2 separate regions of the Homo sapiens genome follow, and region 2 is linked to region 1. Evidence: promoter capture Hi-C in human tissues and cell types (Jung and others, 2019). All regions are on one chromosome and are shown on one strand. Each heading gives the region's core, a stretch centred on a gene start or on the middle of the fragment in contact. The rest is flanking DNA. Distances are from core to core; before and after follow the strand shown.

Evidence for each region. The method cuts DNA at HindIII sites, captures the fragments that hold promoters and counts their contacts. A contact is called where the count stands out against the background at its distance.
Region 2: a fragment that was not itself captured here is called in contact with the fragment with the promoter of DLX1 in region 1 in 4 of the 25 tissues and cell types used here (H1 embryonic stem cells, adrenal gland, heart right ventricle and 1 more).

The regions. Positions count from the first base shown.
Region 1 is chr2:172,083,040-172,087,360 of GRCh38, forward strand. It overlaps DLX1 (distal-less homeobox 1), which reads left to right and starts at 2,468. Exons shown (of 3, transcript NM_178120.5): 1 at 2,468-2,951; 2 at 3,615-3,814. The coding sequence starts at 2,639. RefSeq lists enhancers at 888-1,501, 1,502-2,113, 2,114-2,727, 2,577-2,696, 2,728-3,339 and 1 more and a silencer at 2,187-2,296. The HindIII fragment of the contact is 6,806 bases long and covers 1-4,321 here.
Region 2 is chr2:171,809,527-171,813,847 of GRCh38, forward strand. It overlaps SLC25A12 (solute carrier family 25 member 12), which reads right to left. Exons shown (of 18, transcript NM_003705.5): 11 at 3,813-3,971; 12 at 698-750; 13 at 80-160. Among named protein-coding and RNA genes, the nearest start is that of SLC25A12, 83 kb to the right of the region's middle. The HindIII fragment of the contact is 4,001 bases long and covers 1-3,738 here.

The sequences.
Region 1 (4,321 bases), core at 1,218-3,717:
CAACCAGGTCCCCTGTGCTACCGCAAAAGTCTTTGATCCTTTTCCAGCTGTGGACACAGAGCACCCAAGAGACTGTCGCGATGTGCGGCCGTCTCTCCCCTTCCCCCACCTTGCAAGTCTCTGGAATACACTGTCCCTAGGCGGCCCGGCCGTCGGGTTTCCTCACGCCTTGCCCTGAGCTCCGGGAATTACCAATTCCGCTTTCCCCGGTCCCAACCCCGACCCCGCGCCCGCCGCGGCGATCACTTACTTGGGCAAGGCCCTCAGGGCACGCGCGAGAGACCTGGGGCCCGGCAGTATCCGAGCGACTGTGCTGGGCACACGGCGTGGCACTCCATACCCTAAAACAGGCACTAGGAAGGAGCAATTAAAACCACAAGTGCGACACAGAAATCAGGACGAGCCGAGCGGCTCCCGGAGTTGCCTGGTGGCGGAATCATTAGCTGGCTGTTGCTACAAAGCCTCACCGTGTGGTTCGGTGATTAAGAAAAAAAAAATCTTTTAAACGTTGGCAAACCCGTTATTGGTTTGGCGTATTGGGTTTTTTTTGCTTTTGCTTTTCTTTTTGCTCCAACCACTCTGCCTGAAATATTTCTGCCCCCAGCATTGTGCCCTTAAACCAAAGGAGAGGAATTCTGCGGGCAGCAGCAGCTGGTACAGAAGTTAAAAAAAAAGAGAAACCCCCTCTACTAATATCTGTAACGACAGCACCGATGTAATTTGTTTTGAATGTTCATTTTTATTGGTGTTCCCTCTGCCAAAATGTGCTTGATTACAGAGGTTTGTCCTGTGATCATTGCACACTCCAGACAGGGGAAGGTGCAGCGATGAAGGTTCAGCTCAGGCCAGATCAAATCCCGGGCTGTTTAACGCTGAAAGGCTGCATGTTGCTATTAGTGTTAAATATATGGCTAATTATGCGTATGAAAATTAAACATCAGTGTTATGCTAATGGGGCGCCTTCAGCTGCGGATCTGAGCACTTGAGACTACCATTTAATCAAATGAATCAGTAACTAATACATCTGCACGTGTGAACTTTCACAAGATCATTTCCCCGTTCCCGTCACACCGCTAAATTATGAAAGAAATAATTATCAACACTTTCTAATTACCTAACAAAGTAATTTGGGATTCACCGTGGGGCTGGCGGGATGGGGAACCAACATCCACTTACAGCCAGGGTGGTGTACGCCACACCGCGAGGGACTGGCTGTATTGGTAGTAGTGGCGATGGGGTGGGGGCTCTTGTGCACTTTTTTGTACCTAGCACCCCAGAAGACAGAAGGAGCAGCGGCAGATCTTGCCTCCACTAGCCCTGCCCCCTAGGCCTGGTGGCGCGCGCTTTGGCCACTGGAGGTGAGGAAGATCCTGGGTGGCAACGAGAGACGTCTACACATAGATAAGGGAGCCTACCACAGGCCTGGGTTTGCTGCGGGTTTCGGTGTCCCCCAGGGACTCCTAAACTCTGGAAGTCGCGCTAGACCTCAGGAGGCCGGAAAATGACCACCTGGCGTCGGTGGCTCCAGCAGATCTGAGCCCCTAGGCCCCCTGGGCTCCACGCTGAGCCGCGCTCTCGGGGCGAGTGAGCCCGGGGCTCTCCGCGCATGGGGAGTGGAGAAGGGAGGGGGAGGAGGAGGAAGGCTGGGAGGGAAAGAGGATGTGTGTGTTGGGGGAGGGGGCGGTGCAGCCGCCTTTCCTGGGAGGAGAAGCGCGGGTTCCTGGCTCTCCACGCGCACTGCTTTAATCAGACCCGTGCAGCCTCGAGCTGGAGTGGCCAGCTGGGCCTGGAGCAATGCGAGCGGGCCCCAGGGAGCGACAGCGGCGTTGGCGCAGCGGCCGAGTGAGTGAGTTCGCAGGGAGGGCCCCTAAGCCCCGACTCCAGGGATGCGGCAGAGCGTACCGGGGAGGCGCGGCCGGATAGGCGCTGCGCTAGGCACAAGGCTCTTAGGAGAACCTCTGTCTGTTGGCCGCCTCGGGCGCCCCCAGTGCGCGACTCCGCGCTCCAGAGGCAGAGGTCAGTCTCCTCCTGAGCCGCCCTAGCTCTGCGCCGAACTGAGTGGCAGCGACGAGAAGCGGTCCCGGGTGTCCGGTGTTAGGGACCGCTGAAGGGTGGGGACAGTGGTAGGGGGGCGGCGGCGCGGAGCCGCTGGTTGGTTCCTGGGGAGGAAAGCGCGCGAGGGAGGCGGGAGGCCGATGAGCCGCGGGCCGCAGGGGCCCCGGCGCAGACGCCGCAGCCCATTGTGCTTCCTGCCCGGCGCGCTCTGTTGCAGAGGAGCCCCGGCCGGGAAGTGTGGATGCGTCTTACCCGAGGCCGGGCCGCCTCGCCCGCTCTAGTCCAGCGGAGCCCGAGCGCCTCGGACCAATCCCCAGTGATTATGCAAGACAGCGGACCAATCAGCTCCGCCAGCTCATGAATATTTATGACCTTCGCTGAGTCAAAGCTTTGAACCGAGTTTGGGGAGCTCAGCAGCATCATGCTTAGACTTTTCAAAGAGACAAACTCCATTTTCTTATGAATGGAAAGTGAAAACCCCTGTTCCGCTTAAATTGGGTTCCTTCCTGTCCTGAGAAACATAGAGACCCCCAAAAGGGAAGCAGAGGAGAGAAAGTCCCACACCCAGACCCCGCGAGAAGAGATGACCATGACCACCATGCCAGAAAGTCTCAACAGCCCCGTGTCGGGCAAGGCGGTGTTTATGGAGTTTGGGCCGCCCAACCAGCAAATGTCTCCTTCTCCCATGTCCCACGGGCACTACTCCATGCACTGTTTACACTCGGCGGGCCATTCGCAGCCCGACGGCGCCTACAGCTCAGCCTCGTCCTTCTCCCGACCGCTGGGCTACCCCTACGTCAACTCGGTCAGCAGCCACGCATCCAGCCCCTACATCAGTTCGGTGCAGTCCTACCCGGGCAGCGCCAGCCTCGCCCAGAGCCGCCTGGAGGACCCAGGTACGTGCGCTTGCCAGGGAGAGGGAGAGGAGGAGGTACAAGGGAGAGAGGGAAAGAAGGAGCGGGGGAGAAGAGGAGAGGGAGAGAGAGAGAAAGAGAAGAGAGGAGAGCGAGGTGGGGTGGGGGTGGGGAGGGCGCGGGAGCAGTGGAGGTTTCGAATATCAATCTATAGATCCTTGTCACAGCAAATAAATTTTTTTAAAAATTCCCTCAATTTGCAACTATCCAGCCAAGGATAAATCCCAGAGCGTCTCCTGGCACTGGCTGGGCCTCTGGGCGGCTCGGTGTGCAGAGCACACAATGCCCCGCTGGAAAACAGAAACCCACATGTGCACGTATTAGTCTCGGTAATTATTTATTGCGTAGCGCTATAAACAATGTATGCAATTAAGGGTAATTAAACCTCAACTACCGCCTGCAAAAATAGCAAACTTTCCCTGCAAAGGCAGGAGCTGAGCTCCTGGGAACGGCTCTATCCCTCCTGCAGCGTCCCGGGACAGGCCCTCGGATTTTGGGGGACCCTTCCCTGGCTTTCAGAGTTTCTTGAACGTTCTCTCCCTGGTGCTGCCTCCGCCACCCTTCGGTAGCCACTCGCTCTCGGCTGTTCGCACTAAAGGCGGCCCCTCGTATTAACAACGGGCCCTACTTCTGCTGTCCCTCCAGGGGCGGACTCGGAGAAGAGCACGGTGGTGGAAGGCGGTGAAGTGCGCTTCAATGGCAAGGGAAAAAAGATCCGTAAACCCAGGACGATTTATTCCAGTTTGCAGTTGCAGGCTTTGAACCGGAGGTTCCAGCAAACTCAGTACCTAGCTCTGCCGGAGAGGGCGGAGCTCGCGGCCTCTTTGGGACTCACACAGACTCAGGTACCTCGCCGCTGCCGCTCCGTTCTGCCACGCAGGCTTTCCGCGGCCGGCCTGCGCCCGGGTCTTCATTTGTTGCTCGCTGGGACTCAGGGTCGGGGTGTCACTGTGTGTATGTGTTTGTGTCCACCCCTGGCTCTCAGCGTGTCTCCTTCCTCCCTCATTCCCTCTGCCCTAGCTCTGTCACTGCTCTCGGTATCCCGAGCTGCCTGCCGTCCGGCCCTCTGTCCCTGGACAATCTGATTAGGGCGCAGGAAGGATTTCCCCAGACGATTTGTTTGGGAACTCAGAGGTCACACGTGCCTAAACAACTGGAACAATAGACTCCGGGCTTAATCCCTCCTTTGCCTTTAAATTGTGTGACTAATCACTCGGGGCCTGGGTCCGCGCCTCAGCCTCCCTCCTCCTCCTCCTTCTTACCGGTTGGGGGTGGGGGGAGATCCTTTCCTCCGCCCTCTCACCTCTCAAGTCCCAGACCTTAGAGAAGAAACGGGACCTTCCTTCCCGGCT
Region 2 (4,321 bases), core at 488-2,987, 270 kb before region 1:
ACTAAGATATCTATTATATCTGTGCAAAAAGGTCAACGGAATGTATTTGTCACAAGAAGCGCCTAACAGTAATACTTACACAGCCTCCAGCAAGAACTTCTGCTGGAAGTGGAACAGAGCCATCTCTTCTGGTAAATTTGTCCCGAACAAAATCATTAACCTAATTAGAAAGACAACATCAGTTAACCAAAATTCCCAACCATTTCTCTTCTGGCATACTGTTGCTTTTCCAAGTCAGCAAAATATTTGTCTTATGATAAAATTTAAAATTATCAAATGCTTACATGTAAAATTAAAGTTGTACAAATTCTGCGACAGTGTGCCAGTGTCAGCAGCATCAATTTTAGTTTTGTTTTTGAGACAGGGTCTCACTCTGTTGCTCAGGCTGGAGTGCAGTGGCATGATCATAGCTCACTACAGCCTCAAATTCCTGGACTCAAGCAATCCTCCCACATCAGCCTCCTGGCATAAATCACCACACTTGGCTAATTTTTAATTTTGTTGTTGTTGTTGTTGTTTTGGTAGAGCTGAGTTCTTACTATGCTTATGCTGGTTTAGAACTGGTCTCAAGTGATCCTCCCACCACCCAAAATGCTGAGATTATAGGCATGAGCTACCACGCCTAGCCTTGATTTTAGCTTTTTGGCTTAATGGTAATCTAAACAAATGACATAAATTCAGTTAGAGATAAACTTACAGTCAGTTTAATGGCCTTTTCTGGAGCAACCCCTATAAGTTGTGGTATCAGACCTAGGTAAAGGGACAGAATCATCAGCAATATAGCTGTACCAGACATGAATACACAAGCCCAGCAACAAAGAGTTTCCCCCATATTATTTACCCATCAAACATTGCAGAGTTTTCATTAAAATGGGAAAAAGATTATCCTTAAAACTCTGTATACATATGTAATAATTATTTACAAATGCAGTATAATGTCACGTTTTCTTGAGGCTATAAATCCTCTTCTTAAGCATGCTTACTTTAAAGCCTAGTTATCCAACACTTCCCAAAAAGTCCATGAAGAAGAAACGGAGCCATGCGTCTTCTCTATTCTGGGAACACTGCCAATAACAATGTAACCAAATTCCCTCCCTTATTACAACCAACAACATATAAACATACACAGATACTGTACACTTGGAAAAGCTCTGAAAAGCATGCTGTTAAGCATACCCAGATTTTGCTACCTACATAATGGCATACAGTGGCTTCGTTATTATAGAATACTAACTCCCATAATCTTCTCTTCAGAGAAACACAGCATTCAATATTCATTTATTTAAAAGGAAGCCAAAACTGCAAAGAAAAATGCAGTTTTAAGTATTGTTTAACGAGTATCTCCTATAAGCAAAAACATATGCCTGTTGTATTCTTATTGACTAATATATGTCAAGCTTAAGACATTTTAAAAGAATCCCCTCAAAACAAAGGAAATCATAATCCTTAGAAAGTTAAATTCCCCAGGCTGGTTGTAAACTGGAAAAGAAAAAAATAAACAATTCAACATCTGTTGGGCTCAGCTTTCTAAAGCACACAGCTTATCCAAATTGTTAGCATACTTTTTTGCATACATTTTTTAAAGATGCTAACAATAAACATTTTATATCCTTTAAATCATCCAGCCAAAGGGGAGTTATATATGTGTTTGCCTGCTTGCTGACTGCTGATCTTAAGCCTGCTTTGAGGATACTGCTGAGTTCCATAAGTTGAGAGCCACAAGTAATCATACATATAGGCTACTGTCAGTCAGGCTGAATTATCAATGATACACACAAAGCCTCACACACCTTTCATGCGTAGCAGACTGATTTAAAAGAACAAATCAGCAGATGGCAGTATTAACTTTCTAACCCTCGTGATTATCAGGCTCTATTACTTTTAATCTAACTCCCATACAACCATGTCAGCATGCATATTTGTTTTACAACTCGCCTCAATAAGGCTCATGGAATTTAATAAAGTACTGATTTGTGTCATTTTATCATTGTTGCCTGCGAAGAAATTTAGCTAATCTGTCAACAATTTTGTCAATCATCTGACAGAATAATGGACCAGTTGCAAGCAATATATGACAATCTCAATAATCATAGTGCTCACATACAGGACTCCTACAATCTTCTCCCTAATACAAAAGTCTCTCATTTAAAGAACTGCTTTTATGAGCTTACATCCTGAATAAAACCAACAATCCCCTCCCCTACTTGCTATATTGCATCCATTTAATAAACATGACATCTCTCTCAAATGAAATCTTCTGTAAGCATCTATCCATTGAGAAGGCTAAACTATGCAGTAAATATCTAGGTTCCTTTTAATAGGGGACATTTTCTTTGCAATTTAAAAGTATACCAAAGAGGAGAAAGGTCATTATTCAACAAAGAAATATTGGAGATATCAAGGAAAAAAACAACCTTAATGCCACTCAACCTTGATTCCCCATTAAATAAAATCTGGATATGCAGGGTTTAATCAGTTAAAACAAGCATTCACATGGAAAGGTCTGCATTCTGGATATTGTACGCCTTTCCACAGGGTACATGCTGTACAGGTGGAATTCAAAGAGACTACAGTTCTGAATATTTGAGGAAAACTCATCACATTCATTCTCAAGAGCAGGGTACTTGAGCCTAGTTTGATTTCGGAATAACTCTCTCCTATTATTCTATATATAATGCTAAAAATGAACATCCTTGTGACCCTCTACTTCAATTATGAGTTTATCGGAGTTATATTTTTTGCTTGAATACCTGTATATAATGCTAACCAGCGGTGTTTTTTTCCTCCTGTCCATGAGCATAAAGCTCTGTTCGGGCCCAGTCTTTCTTAGGAAGATTTCTAAGCCAAATAGTTCAACAGAGCTCAGAATAGGCTAGGGATTAATGAGCTTGTATGTGCAAACAAACAAGTACAGTAAATTACATAAATGGCATGGACTTGAGCATGTAGAGAGTATTTTCATAGAATCCCAAGTGGCGCCCAAAGAGATTAAAAAATTAATCTCCCTCCCAAAGGAAACCCTATATTCTAATGTGAAAACACATACATGAAAGTCATTCTCTCTCCAAAGAGACAAGTTCCTACAAAGACAACGGGGGGTGGGGAAAATTCTGCATGGGGCGCAGTGCTGCCTCTGATGCCAACTGCACTGTGCTCAGTCTAGAGTGGCTGCTAACATTCCCTGCGAAAGAAAATCTCTCTGTTTTGACTGTACACCTCTGAGCTAAGTGGGGGAAAGAAGCAAGAATTAGACTTGGAACCAAAGGGTTTTCCTTTTTTTTTTTTTTTTTAAACCTTCAGATGGCTCATTGGAAAAAATTTATAAATGGTCCCTGAAAGAGACAAAAACATTTGATATTTATTTCAGTTGAAATAAATATATGGAGGGTAAACTCATCTTTGAGTGGTAACCTGGATTCTTTTTCACAGGAAAGAGATGTATTTCTCCTCTTTAATTCTTTGAGAAAAGCAGCTCTATATTTCTTAACTATCATCCTTGTATTCCACCTGCAGATATGTGCCTTGGTTTGTAGGAGCATGGTGACATAGACCCATGTTGGGACAAACACATAATTTGGACACCAAGAAATATAAACCACAAGAAGAAGAAATGAAGACCTTATTTGCAGATTAATATTGCTAATCACCAGAAAGAATGCAAAAAGGGAAATGAGCAAAGAGAAAATAAAAAGAGAGAAACAGACCTAGTCTGGCTAGGCATACTACATATTGGCTTCCATAATTAGTGAGTTAAAATCTGCTGCTGGTGAGATCAAATCACTAACTTCAGCAGCTGGGATTTGCTTACTCACCCCTGTAGAGTCCAAAGAAGCCCTCATAACGCAAGACTTTCTTAAAACAGTCAAAGCTGTTTTTGTACATTAGCTCCCCAACAACAGAGCCAGAGCCACGCTGGTTTTGCATTCGGGTCTTCACCAGATCTATAGGATACACTGCAGTGGCTCCCACAGCTACAAACAGAACAATTTTTAGGCTTAAAAAAGAACACAATTAAATGGAGAGTCCATAAGGATGACAAATCTTATCTTAAAGGATGAGAAAATAAAACACAACATGTATTCTCACAAAAGAGAGTTTATTATTTTTCTTTCCCTCACAAACACCTTAGGGATAGCAGGCTATAGCAAGCACTGAAATCCATAAATACAGCTGCTTCAGAAAACAACTGTCAAGAATGCTCTTTGATATCGTAGGTTCATAAACTACAGAGTGGATTATCGAGTCACTTCCCAAATTAGATAATCAACACTCAGTTTTCTATAGTAACAACATTAAACTATTATGTATAACATTTATTTAT